Regions from separate parts of the Homo sapiens genome. Here regions 2 and 3 are each linked to region 1. Evidence: promoter capture Hi-C in 16 types of primary human blood cells and fetal thymus (Javierre and others, 2016). All regions are on one chromosome and are shown on one strand. Each heading gives the region's core, a stretch centred on a gene start or on the middle of the fragment in contact. The rest is flanking DNA. Distances are from core to core; before and after follow the strand shown.

The links. The method cuts DNA at HindIII sites, captures the fragments that hold promoters and counts their contacts. A CHiCAGO score of 5 or more calls a contact.
Region 2: a fragment that was not itself captured here is called in contact with the fragment with the promoter of FNDC1 in region 1 in 1 of 17 cell types (M1 macrophages); the score reaches 6.3 in M1 macrophages.
Region 3: a fragment that was not itself captured here is called in contact with the fragment with the promoter of FNDC1 in region 1 in 3 of 17 cell types (megakaryocytes, M2 macrophages and M0 macrophages); the score reaches 7.0 in megakaryocytes.

Annotation. Positions count from the first base shown.
Region 1 is chr6:159,167,204-159,171,567 of GRCh38, reverse strand. FNDC1 (fibronectin type III domain containing 1) reads right to left here and starts at 2,168. Exons shown (of 23, transcript NM_032532.3): 1 at 1,863-2,168. The coding sequence starts at 1,971. It overlaps FNDC1-AS1 (FNDC1 antisense RNA 1), which reads left to right and starts at 1,561. Exons shown (of 4, transcript NR_121668.1): 1 at 1,561-1,756; 2 at 2,807-3,035; 3 at 4,214-4,319. RefSeq lists an enhancer at 814-1,313 and a silencer at 2,120-2,289. The HindIII fragment of the contact is 8,244 bases long and covers 1,110-4,364 here.
Region 2 is chr6:159,935,322-159,939,685 of GRCh38, reverse strand. No RefSeq gene overlaps it. Among named protein-coding and RNA genes, the nearest start is that of IGF2R, 32 kb to the left of the region's middle. The HindIII fragment of the contact is 4,391 bases long and covers 153-4,364 here.
Region 3 is chr6:159,682,257-159,686,620 of GRCh38, reverse strand. It overlaps SOD2 (superoxide dismutase 2), which reads left to right. Exons shown (of 5, transcript NM_000636.4): 4 at 1,588-1,767; 5 at 3,983-4,364. The coding sequence ends at 4,128. Among named protein-coding and RNA genes, the nearest start is that of SOD2, 8.8 kb to the left of the region's middle. The HindIII fragment of the contact is 5,065 bases long and covers 1-4,364 here.

The DNA.
Region 1 (4,364 bases), core at 919-3,418:
TTATGTGGCCGTGGGTAATTTCCTTACAGAGATTCTGGCCCCAAAAGGGTGGTGAAGGGGAGAGCTTGACACAAGCAGCTCGCTTGGTCCATGCATTAGTTCAACCAGAGAGAGGGAGCAGTCTATCCATGACGTTGCTGTCAAAGGGAGCCCATGAAAGAAGTTATGTACCCCATAATTTCATCCACAGCATGGGGAGCTATCTACAGGTTGCTATGTCTGTTTCTATCCTTCTATTACTTAATTTAAATTTAGTAGATTTCATTCTGAAATGTGCCTGTCCTCCTTTGTCCACCTCTAGTCTGGTCATCATTTGACTGTAGATCCCACGTCAACACAGTAGAGAGAAGGGCTGGGAAGCTGTCCAGCCCCAGCATTCCTCAGCACAGTGATTCACAGAGCAGAAGGCGAAAAAGCAAGAGTGCAGATCGCGGTGGGATTCCAGGAGCTCTCACAAACAACCCCGCTCGGACCCACTCACATGCAACCCACGGGCAGGTGGCAGAGGAATCGGAAAAGCAGAAGGCTGGAATCGCCACAAAGCCAGGGCAGCACTGGTTCCAGTTTCAGATCATTTTCAGAAACAAAAACTCTTCCAGCACTCTGAAAATTTTCACTTAGAAAAACAAAAGCCAGGAGTTGTAGGTGGGGAAGTTGGAAGACTTTATTTAGTTTTATTCCTCTCAAGTACTGTGCAAAGTATTCAGTGAATACTTTCCTAGAGTTCACTAATGGGAAGAAAAAGACCCTACGGCAGGCACTGCCTTTTATGAGAAAGTGGCATTGGCATCAGAATACCTCGCATAAACCTGAGCCAAGCATTGGGATGATGTATCTACCAAAAAGTCACAAAGTAATGTGATCCCCAACTTTTCTTCCTTTACCCCTGAAGTAAGAGAACAATATATACACTAAATAGCATCATAAAACTGGTACCCTCGTTGGAATAGTATCTGACGATCATTGTCTGCTTCTTGGATTTCTACAAACCAATAACCTAAAAGCCAGTTTCAAGTGTAAAAATGCCTGCAAAGGAGGTGGTAACAAGGGCCGCCAAAGGCTTAGGAATGAAAACCTCGCCACAAACTTGTCTCTCTCTGCAGGAAGCTTGCAAGAAATCTGACAGGAGCGCGCTAGCATTTTCTGAAAAGCATTGCTCTCAAAGGAAGCATCCATCCTGGCTGCAGCCTCAGCCATTGGGGAAGGGCGAGTTTCTCTGGAATCAGCTTTCTCATTTCCCTCTCCCTCCTCTCAAGACAAACATTTTCTCCCAGCTTGAACGTTCCCCCCGGGCGCGCGGGCCTCCTGCCGCCTGGAGCCGAGCTGGCACTGGAGCGCTTCTCCTCTGGAGCGCAGAGGCACCCGACGCCCTGCGGCAGCTCGCAGCCTTTCCCCCACGACCTTCTAGAACAGCCCTGCTCTGCCTCCCTCCGGTCTCCCGAGTGCGCCCGTCATCCTGCCTCGCGAGAGGTGAACGCGGAGAAAGTAGGATGACCACCTACGCTCCCGAGAAATTCTGGGCAAAGAAAGGCATTACCCCAGTCCGCACGCTGAAAGTCGCCTTTCTTTTCCTTTTTTCCCCGCTGTGCCTGAATCTCCCGGGACACTTAGACGGCTGGAGCCTCCCGACTCCAAGGCGGGCGACGGCAAAGTTAAACGCCAGCGCGCTGCGGTCCCCGGGCACCGAGGCGTCCCCGCTCCCGCCACCCACACAGGGCGCCAAGTGCCCCGACCCGCGAGTGACGAGGACGCACAGGCTAGTGACACGACCCGTAGCCAGCACTGAGCGGGACGACGGGGCCCGAGCGCAGGAGGGTGCGCGGGGAGCTGAGGAGCGCCGGGGGCCCGGGCGCGGCGCGTACCTGAGGCCGCCGCCGAGGAGGCGACGGGGAGCAGCGCGGCCAAGAGCAGCAGCGCCGCCCAGGACAGCCGGCGCGGCGCGCGCAGGGTCGCCCCGGCCTCGGGGGCCATCGAGAGCCCGGGGTGGGCCGGGGCTGGGTGCTTGCGGCTGGCAGGGGGGCGCTGGCCGGAGTCTGGGGAGTGCCGAGGCGCCGCCGTCGGGTCCCCGCCGCCGTCCGTCTGTTCTGCGCGCTCTGCGCGGTGCCCGCCGCGCCCCTGCCCCGCGGCGATCGCTCCCGGCCGCACACCGGCAGCCGCGCTCCGCCACTGAGGCCGCCGACCTCCCGCCGAGCCTTTTAGCTGCGCTCGGGCGCCCCCTGCCGGTGTGCGGGGCCGGGGCCAGGGCCGGCGGGGGCGACCCGGGCGACAGGGGCGACGGGGGCGGCGGGGCCCGGGCTGGAGGCGGGCGGGGCGCGGGACGAAGGGGCCGGAGCGCCCCGGACTGACTTAGCGGTTCTGAACTTGGGGCGGTCGCTGTGCCGGGCCAAGTGGCTGAGGAAGTTCCTCCCCTCGTCTAACCCTCTCATTTTCTGGCTGGGGAAGTCGCCCATCGCGCCGAGGAGTGCCCTTTGTCCCCTTACAGAAACACCTCTGCGCCCCAAGTGGGGACTCGGGCCGGGACCCCTCACCCGGTCCGCAGCGCTGTAGTTCCTGTGGCTAGCCCAGTCCTTCCACGTCCCTACCCGCACCCGGCGCGCCCACGTCAGGGGTTTTCAGCGTCCTTAGACCCTGCTCCGTCTGGCTGTCATTTCTAGGGCGCGCACGATGCGGGTCGAAAAGGAACCCAGTTTTCAGTGTGCCTTGTTGCCCAGGCCAAGGACTCAGCGGACCTCGCCTCTCCCTTTTCTGTAATTGTAACACTGCCCCAGGTCTCCCTATTCCTCCTTCTCCCTATTCCTCCTTCCAGCCTGGAAGCCTCGCGGCCCTCCAGATGGACTCGGAGCGCCCCTGGAGGCTACAGTGACCTAAGCTCTAGGAAGGCCGGGTCCTGGACGCCGCGTGCTGCTGTCCGCCGCCGACCGGTGTCCTCGCAGAGATAACCTGGCTGAACTCACCGCCCAGCGCTATGTCAGTTCTCCCTCATGACAACCCAAAACTTGACCGGATTTGTGTTCTGCAGAGAGGAAAAAAAAAAGGTAAATGAATTGCAAAGAGATGAAAACCAGAAATACAGTATCTCTTTGAATTTGAGCACCCAGGAAAGGTGTAAACCTACCGCCTTCCTTTCCAGGAAACTCTCCTGCTTCCCAGCAAAGGTTTTTGTTTGTTTGTTTTTCTTTTTCTTTTTGTTTTGAGACAGGGTCTCCCTCTGCCTCTGCCGCCCAGGCTGGAGTGCAGTGGTGCAGTCTTGGCTCACTGCAACCACCATATCCCAGGCTCAAGCCATTCTCCTGCCTCAGCCTCCTAAGTGGCTGGGACTACAGGTTTCAGCCACCATGCCCAGCTCATTTTTGTATGTTTTGTAGAGACAGGGTTTCCCCACGTTGCCCAGGCTGGTCTCCAACTCCTGAGCTCAAGCAATCCGCCCACCTTGGCCTCCCAAAGTGCTGGGATTACAGGCGTGAGCCACCACGCCCAGCCCAAACACACTTTCCTGCATTACTCCCTTATGTTATCATGTTTCCCCACATGCCATTTAATGGAGCTGTGTGGTTTCTGTCTCACCAGCAGCCACCCGGCTCTGCCTATTTTGGGGGAATGGTAGCTCCCTCCCCAACTCCAACCAAGTGACAGGCCCCCTCCTTACTCCCACTCCTTCCCAAAGCCCCACTTCCCCACTGGCTCAGGGCTCTGCAGTGGCCTAGACAGGGTCACTCAGAGTTGGGACTCTTCTAACACGGGCTGGTGGAAAGGTCTCTTTCTCCCATCATTCGTGGATTTGGAAGGATGGTAGCCATGGCAGGCTGAAACACAGCCTTCCTCCCCAAAAAGACATTCCTGTCCTAGTCCCTGACCCTGTGAATGTCACCTTACATGGTTTATTAAAAAGCAATTAAGCATGCTGAGACAGAGAGATTATCGTGGATTATCTGGGTGGGCCCTAATGCAGTCATGTATGTAACTTATAAAACAGAGGAGAGGGAGATTGACGCACACAAGAGAAATCCAGGTGAGGACGGAGGCAGCCATGGGAACGATGCACCCACAGCCCAGGGATGCTGGCAGCCCTCACCAGAGGCTGGAAGAGGCTCCTCCAGAGCCTGTGCTGGACTTCAGGCCAGTGGAACTGATTTCAGACTTCTGGCCTCCAAGACTGAGAGAGCAGATTTCTGTTGTTTAAGCCACCCACCCCGTTTGTAATTACTTCTTACAGCGGCCACCGAACACCAGTGCAGTAGCCAGGATGGGCCTGTGGCTCTGGCTGCAGCCTCCAGGGACACCAGCTGGAGAGAAGGAAGCCACGCATGGAGAGCGGCCAGGTGGGTAGAAAAGAGCCGGGCAGATGCAAGAGTCCCGGGCTCCAC
Region 2 (4,364 bases), core at 1,099-3,598, 770 kb before region 1:
TGACTGGAAAACTTCCTCTTATTCAGTACAAATGACTCCATTTTATTTGCAGTTTTGGCACCGCCTTATCTCTGATTTTGATAAAGGGAGCTTTGCTGAAAAGCTCTTGGCAGTGGTTCAGTAAGGGATTTTTTTTTTTAATTTAAAAAGCTTTATTGGGGTATCATTAACATGCAATGACTTGCTTATTGATATACAATAAATTGTCCATTTAAACTGAACAGCTTGGTAAGTTTTGACATATGCATACACCCGTAAAACCATCAGCACCATCAAGATAGTGAACGCATCCATCCCCCACAAAACTGTCCTTTGTCCCTCCTTTGTATACCTTTCTGCCCCCCGAAAGCAACCACTGATCTGTCTTCTGTCTCCATAGATTAGAGGGAATTTTCTAATTTAATATAAATGGAACCATATAGTATGTACTCCTTTTTATGTGGATTCTTTTGCTCAGCATAATTTTGACATTTGTCTCCTGTGTATCAATAGTTCACTCAGTTTTATTGCTGAATAATATCCCACTGTATGGGTATACCAGTGTATCCATTCACCTATCGTTGGACATTTATCAGTTTTTGGGGGGTAAGTATCTAGGAGTGGAATGGATGGAATGCATGGAATACATGGTGGGTCTACTACTTGCAAAGATGGTTGTACCATTTTATATTCCCATCAGTAGTGTCTGAGACTTCCAGTTTTTCTACATCTTTGCCAACACTTGGTATCATCAGACTTTTAAATTTCAGCCATCTTAATGGGTATGTAGTGGTATCTCACTGTGGTTTTACTGATAATGTCTAATGATGTAGAACAGCTTTTCATGTGCTTATTTGCCACCCATATATCTTCTTTGTGAAGCGTCTGTTCAAAGTTTTTACCCATTTTTAAATGGGCTTGTTTGTTTCTTCATTGTTGAGTTCTGAGAGTTCTTTATATATTTTAGATAAAGTCCTTTTCACATACATGCTTGGCGAATATTTTCTGCCCATTTATTGCTTATCTTTTCGTTGTCTTAACAGAGCCTTTTCAATGGCCAAGTTTTTAATTTTCATAAAGTACAGTTCATCACTTTGTTACTTTACGGATGGTGCTTTTGACACCGTATGTAAGAAATCTTTCTTTGCCTAACCCAAGGTAACAAAGGTTTTCTCCTATAATTTGTAGAAATGCTATAGTTTTGGATTTTACATTTAAGTCTATAATCTCATTTGTTAGCTTTTGGTTTTTGTTTTTTTAGGGTCTCACTCCCATTGCTCAGGCTGGAGTGCAGTGACATGATCTCAGCTCACTGCAGCCTCAACTTCCTGAGCTCAGGTGATTCTCTCACCTCAGCCTCTCGAGTAGCTGGGACTACAGGTGCACGTCACCCCACCTGGCTAATTTTGTGTATTTCTTTTAGTAGAGATGGGGTCTCCCCTTATTGCCTAGGCTGGTCTCAAACTCCTGGGCCCAAGTGATCCACCTGCTTCGACCTCTCAAAGTGCTGGGATTATAGGTATGAACCACCGCACCCAACATTTGTTAGTTTTTGAACACACTTTAAATTATGGATTCAAGGAGCTAAGTTTCTTCTTCTTCTCCTTTTTTTTTTTTTTTTTTTGCACCTGTTCCAGCATCTTTTGTCAAAAATCAGTTGTCCATATATGTGTGAGTATATTTCTGGACTCTCTACTCTGTTCCATTAATCTATTTGTCTATCTTTATGCCAATGGCATGCTGTTTTGACTGCAGTAGAGGAATTTGAGCATGAGAAGTTTAAAAATGGCTCTGAGGTCCATCTTATCCTGGAGATTTGGAATTCCTTTTTCCTTCCAAGTCAAGGGGGAAAGCCTACAACCTCTTCTTAAAGGTGAGCATGACCTGTCTTTTGCTCAAAGGGTCTTAGCACTGCTGCCAACAAGTTGCAACAGAGAATTTTCTGGGCCTTTGTGGATGATGGGAAGCTCTGCAGAAAATTCATCCATCATTGGCTCCCCAAACCAGCCTCAGAGCCAAGCTGACAGCAAACCAAAGGCCTCATGTAGCCACTCCCACTGGCAAGGAGGAGTGCCCTCTCCTGTAGGAACAAGGACTACGGGGTGTCCCTCGTTCTGGACACTTGCTAGCAGTTTCTGTAAAGATTTCCAGACACGGGGGCTGAAATTAGACATTAAAATCACATTTGGGAATATTAAAGAATTTATTGTACCTCCTTCCCGTCCCTCATTTCCCTCTTCCAACATCACTCTCGATCTTCAGAAATTGTGAGACAGTTACATGCTAAGAAGGAAGTAGGAAAAGAGGCTGTCTCTAGCTCTGTCTCCCTAGGAGCATGGTATTGATGACCTGCATGAGCCTGGCACTGGGCAATGGGCAGGGCTGGACAGAAAGTTAGGGGAGCAGGGAACGTGGAACCTTCTGTATGATCTGTGTGATTTGCCTGTAAATCTAAAACTATTCTAAAATAAAAAGTTGTTTTTTGTTAAAGGTCCAAGTAACTGTTTAGAAGAAAAGTTAGGGAAAGGAAAGGTTTATTAAAACTAATGAAAAACAGCCTAGCCATTATAAAAAGTAACGGCTCTCTTTTTTTATTATCTTCCCAACTGAAAAATGACCATAAATCTTCAGTCTTCCACAGACTCCTATTTGTTGGGTGTGCATTTCTTCAAGCTGTGAAACAGCCATAGATGGCTCCATGCAGCAGGAGCAAACGTGTTTTTGTTTCTCCCCCAACCCTTCCTGGTTCAAACACCCTTCCCTTTGTTCCTCCTTCTCCTCAACCCTGGTCAAGTCATTTTCTTTCTGGTTTAATCAGAGATAAGAAAAGCAGATCTTGAAAGTCTTTTCACAGGAGAATCTAAAAATCTCAGTGCTGATGGAAGGTATGGAAGCATGGGAAGTTAAAGAAGAGGACTTCCGGCTCTCATCATCTATCACCGCTGCTCTGGCATAACACAAATGGAGGATATGAAAACATCCATTCTGTGACCTGGGGATCAGCCCCCTGCTGAGAAAGGTCTTCTACTGAGGAGTGTCCCACTAATGGGATAATCTCACAGACGGGTAAACACAAAGACACAGGGCTCTGTCACACACTAGCACCAACCAGGTTGCTGTGTTTCCTGGGTCACAGATTTGCCCAGGAGAAACTCCATCCACTAAACCCAAGTGTTAAAATGAAAGCAAATACATTGGCGCCTGAACACAACAATGCATGCTACAGAGTGGAATTCCATAAATGGCCTTTTACTACAATAAAATCACAAGGAACTCAAGATAAAACCATTGAACAGTATGTACAATAAGGGCAGTGTCAGTCCAAGACTTGGAGACACTTACCAAATGGAATGGAGAAGGCATTAAATATTCATTGACATGTCAAGTCAGTCTTTCCACATAGAAGGTTCAATGGAGAATGTAGTGGAAAGACCCAAAGTGACCCCCAAAGACACCCACCTTCTGGGATCATGCCTCTGGGTACTCTCCTCCCCTTGAGTGTGGGCAGGACCTGGGACTTACTTGTAACTAACAGGATATGGCAGAGATAATGGGATGTCCCTTTATGATTAAGTTACCATATATATAAGTCTCCCTCTTAGGAGCAGACATACTGTACTCTCCCTTACTGGCCTTGAAAAATCTGACATGAAGTAAGTGGCCATGGTGAAGAAGCCCATATGGCAAGGAACTGCAGGCAAACTGCCATTGCTGAGAGCAGCTTCAGCAAGAATGCAAAGCCTCAACCCTGCAAGAAGAAGGAAATGAATTCTGCCAACAAGCTGAGGGAGCTTGGGAGTGGATCCTTCCCTGGTTGAGTCTCTGATGACACTGCAGCTGAGTCAACACATTGACTTCAGCCTAGTGAGATGCTGAAGCTCAGAACCCAGATGAGCCATGCCCAGGCTTCTGACCTGCAGAAACACTGAGATAATAAGTGTGTGTTGTTCTGGCTGCTAAGTTCATAGTAATTTGTTACGCAGCAGTCGCTGACTAATACAGGAGATAAGAAATAGTTTGACTTGCTAGCCATTTTTACTTTCATAAAAATGTTGTTTCTAGTTATCCTTTCATGCTATGAGAAGCATCCTTTCCAACTCCCACTGTCACAGAGGGGATCCCACATCTCAAGCTCATGGTGGTCCCCCAGCTGAACTAAATGACTGACTGTAGAAGAGGGGTGGTTCCCCAAAGGAAATACAGGGTCTCATTACCAAAAGAAAAAGGAGATAGAAAGTGAACATCAAAAAAATAGTAATTGCCCACCTGAGAGCCCTCCCCATTTAATTTGACAGGGGAAGGAACAGGTCCAGAGATGGTGAACGGCTTCCACGATCACACAACAACTTCATGGCAGGGCCAGAAGCAACACTTTTTCCTCATGC
Region 3 (4,364 bases), core at 1,203-3,702, 510 kb before region 1:
CTACAGTGAAGTGGCTTGATCTTGGCTCACTGCAGCCTCTGCCCATCCCGGGTTCAAGTGATTCTCTGCCTCAGCCTCCCGAGTAGCTGGGATTATAGGTGCCTGCCACCATGCCCGGCTAATTTTTTTGTATTTTTAGTAGAGAGGAGTTTCTCCATGTTGGTCAGGCTGGTTTTGAACTCCTGACCTCAGGTGATCCACCTGTCTCGGCCTCCCAAAGTACTAAGATTACAGGTGTGAGCCACCGTGCCTGGCCAACTTATTTTTTTTCTGAGTTCAGTCTTCTAGACTATCGGTTAATACTTTTGAAGTTTTGTCAGTTACCAGAATATCAGATATATTCATATGCAACCAGTGGTTTTGGTATGCTGCCATTTTTGTTTAATCTGTACCACATTCCATCATTTGTGCTTATAAAGATGATTACTTTTAAACCCGTAGAATAAGAGAAGTGAGATTTTGACCCAGTTGATTTAGTTGATGTGACTAATCTAGAATTATATTCTGTATTACTACAGAATAAAAGGATTACAGCTCTTAAAGTATACCCTTAGTTCAGTCGTAGAGAAAACTGCCCATCAAGACAGGAAGAGCTGGGCTGCCTTGGAGAAGAACAATGACTTTATTCCCAAATGGAGGCGTAGAAGAAGGAGGGTAGAAGTCAAAGGAAAATTTTCTATTCAGGGAAAAGAAAAAGCTAACAGAAAGTAGTATTTCTTTCCTAACAAAGATAGTACAGTGAGTGGGGAAATCCCTCTAACACGATTCATTAAAAAATGTGAACTACGCAGCTGGAGGCCATTATCCTAAGCGAATTAACCCAGGAACAGAAAACCAAATACCACATGTCTCACTTGCAAGTGGAAGCTAAACATGGAGTACTTATGGATATAAAAATGGCAGCAACAGACACTGAGGACAGAGCAGGGAGGGAGAAAGAAGGGGACGGGGGGTGAAAACTGTTGTATACTAAGCTCGCTACCTGGGTGATGGCATCAATTGCACCCCAGACCTCAGCATCATATGATACCCGTGTAACAAACCTGTGCGTGTACCCTCTGAATTTAAAATAAAATTTGAACCGGGCACGGTGGCTCACGCCTGTATTCCCAGCACTTTGGGAGGCCAAGGCGGGTGGATCACCTGAGGTTGGGAGTTTGAGACCAGCCTGACCAACATGGAGAAACCCTGTCTCTACTAAAAACACAAAATTAGCCGGGCGTGATGGCACGTGCCTGTAATCGCAGCTGCTCGGGAGGCTAAGGCAGGAGAATTGCTTGAACCTGGGAGGCAGAGGTTGCAGTGACCCGAGATCATGGCATTGCACTCCAGCCTGGGCAACAAGAGTGAAACTCCGTCTCAAAAGGTAAAAAATGAAAAAAAAAAAAAAAAAAAAAAAAAGTTGAAGTTATAAAAAACAAAAACGTGAATTAAAATTGTGAAACTTAGATCCAGGTGTCGCATTCTGATGTTGTCTAATTTCTTGGGCCCTATGACAAAAATATTTTAATACATGTAATATAACATTTTACTGTAATTATTGAAATCTGTTCATTTGTGGGTGGTTTTGGATTTTTTTTTTAATAGGGGAGTTGCTGGAAGCCATCAAACGTGACTTTGGTTCCTTTGACAAGTTTAAGGAGAAGCTGACGGCTGCATCTGTTGGTGTCCAAGGCTCAGGTTGGGGTTGGCTTGGTTTCAATAAGGAACGGGGACACTTACAAATTGCTGCTTGTCCAAATCAGGATCCACTGCAAGGAACAACAGGTTAGATTTAAAAATTGTGATTTCATTTGGGAGAGATGCTCTACTGTAAAGCATTCAACTAGAAATAAGGAAAACTAACAGTGTTTTAAGAACATGTAATAATTTGCAAATCTTAACAGATAACACCCAGAGTCTTGTGTAAGTAAAAATGTTTTAGAAGTCCTGATATTTCATAAAATTAAGTACACGTAATTTTATAGGTACATTAACAAACATGTTTTATTTTTATTTATTTTTTTTGAGACAGATCTCACTGTTGCCCAGGCTGGAGTGCAGTGGTGCGATCTCGGTTCACTGCAACCTCCGCCTCCTGGGTTCAAGTGATTCTCCTGCCTCAGCCTCCCAAATAGCTGGGATTACAGGCACATACCACCATGCCCAGCTAATTTTTGTGTTTTTAGTACAGACAGGGTTTCACCATGTTGGCCAGGCTGGTCTTGAACTCCTGACCTCAGGTATCTGCCTGCCTCGGCCTCCTGAAGTGCTGGGATTACAGGCATGAGCCACCATGCCCAGCCAAATGTTTTACTTATTAACCCTGCTTCATTCTACAGAGAATTAATATCAGCTTAGATAATTATATGTACTAAAATAAAAAAAAAATTAGCTATAGAACAAGAGTGAGGAAAAGAAATACAAGCAGAGACTGATTTCAGAGCTTGTACTGTTACCTCCTCTGCTGAGCATTTGAGGTTAAACTGGGACTAGATCTCAGGTTTCCAGACCTTCTGCCTTTCTGGGGCTCTTTGGTAGAGTATATGAAAATATTCGGCTTGGAAGTGCCAGGCTGGGCTCACCAAATACTTTGCTGTTGAGCCTAATTGGATTTAAAAAATGTCACTGAAGAGTATGGGAAATAGAGCCATGAGTTGTCTGGCAGAGGGTTGGGACTTTGAACTTAAAGTGATACCTTCACATCAACAACAGTCATTCTCTGCCCCTTCTTCTACCCCTGACATTGGAATACTCTTGATCTGTGGCTCACTTCACAGGATAGACCCAGATTTTGGCAGAATCTGAACAGCTCTTTTGGGACAGTGACATGGCATAACAATTTGTAAAAGCCACAAAAAATTTGTAAGCACCGATCTGTAGAGTCAGGTTATTTGTAGAGCTGCATGACCAGAAAGGCTGATATTTGTAAGTGAGTCCCAGCTACACTCCTTCCTCTCCCTGTGGAAAGCACATTAGAAGGAAAATGAGGGAATGTCATGGCCTTTTGTTTATAAAAATCATTAATAAATTTTGCTACTTGAAATTATTAATAATAAATTACTAGTGACCTCCCTCACAACTGATCAAGACATACTGGTTAAGAATTGTTTTTGTAGAGAGAGCTATAATTTATTTTGAGTGTTTTTGTGTGTGCGTGATGGAGTCTCACTCTGTTGCCCAGGCTGGAGTGCAGTGGCGCAATCTTGGCTCACTACAACTTCCGCCTCCCAGGTTCAAGCAATTCTCCTGCGTCAGCTTCCTGAGTAGCTGGGATTACAGGCGCCTGCCACCTCGCCAGGCTAATTTTTTGTATTTTTAGTAGAGGCGGGGTTTCACCATGTTGGCCAGGCTGGTCTCGAACGCCTGACCTCAAGAGATCTGCCTGCCTCGGCCTCCCAAAGTGCTGGGATTACAGGCCTGAGCCACTGCGCCCAGACCAAAAGTTTTTTTAAATGGATGTTTTACAGATAGAACTAAATTCTTCATTTACCTCACTTAATTTCTGAAAACACTGTGTCCTCCAACTGCTCTGTATTCCCAAAGATTAAAATTAGCCTTGGGGAGCAGAGCTGGTTCCTCGTAAACCCCTGTGAGTGCCCAGACCCTTTGGAGGAGGTTCTCAGTGGGCTTTTGCCTGCTCCCACAGATGTAACCCACCCTTCCTGCTGCTCCTAAGACCACCATGAGGAAGGCTGGGAATTGGCTCTTGAATTAATTTGTTGGTATTTTTAAGAATAGCTATTAAAGTACTGTTGTTAATTTTCCCAAGTCTATTTTATTGTTAGTATTTGTCACATTTTCTTTGTAAACAGTGAATTAAAAATATTTTATAGGAATATTCATTCTTATCTAGATTTCCTACTTATATAAAAAAACAAGTGAATGAGATTGTTACAAAGGGTAATTTTGTGTGAGTAGAATAATAAAAGTTGAAATTGAGAAGATGCAATGTTTTAGACTGAAACTGATGGTTGGTTTGTTTTCCCCTTCTTTCTAACAGGCCTTATTCCACTGCTGGGGATTGATGTGTGGGAGCACGCTTACTACCTTCAGTATAAAAATGTCAGGCCTGATTATCTAAAAGCTATTTGGAATGTAATCAACTGGGAGAATGTAACTGAAAGATACATGGCTTGCAAAAAGTAAACCACGATCGTTATGCTGAGTATGTTAAGCTCTTTATGACTGTTTTTGTAGTGGTATAGAGTACTGCAGAATACAGTAAGCTGCTCTATTGTAGCATTTCTTGATGTTGCTTAGTCACTTATTTCATAAACAACTTAATGTTCTGAATAATTTCTTACTAAACATTTTGTTATTGGGCAAGTGATTGAAAATAGTAAATGCTTTGTGTGATTGAATCTGATTGGACATTTTCTTCA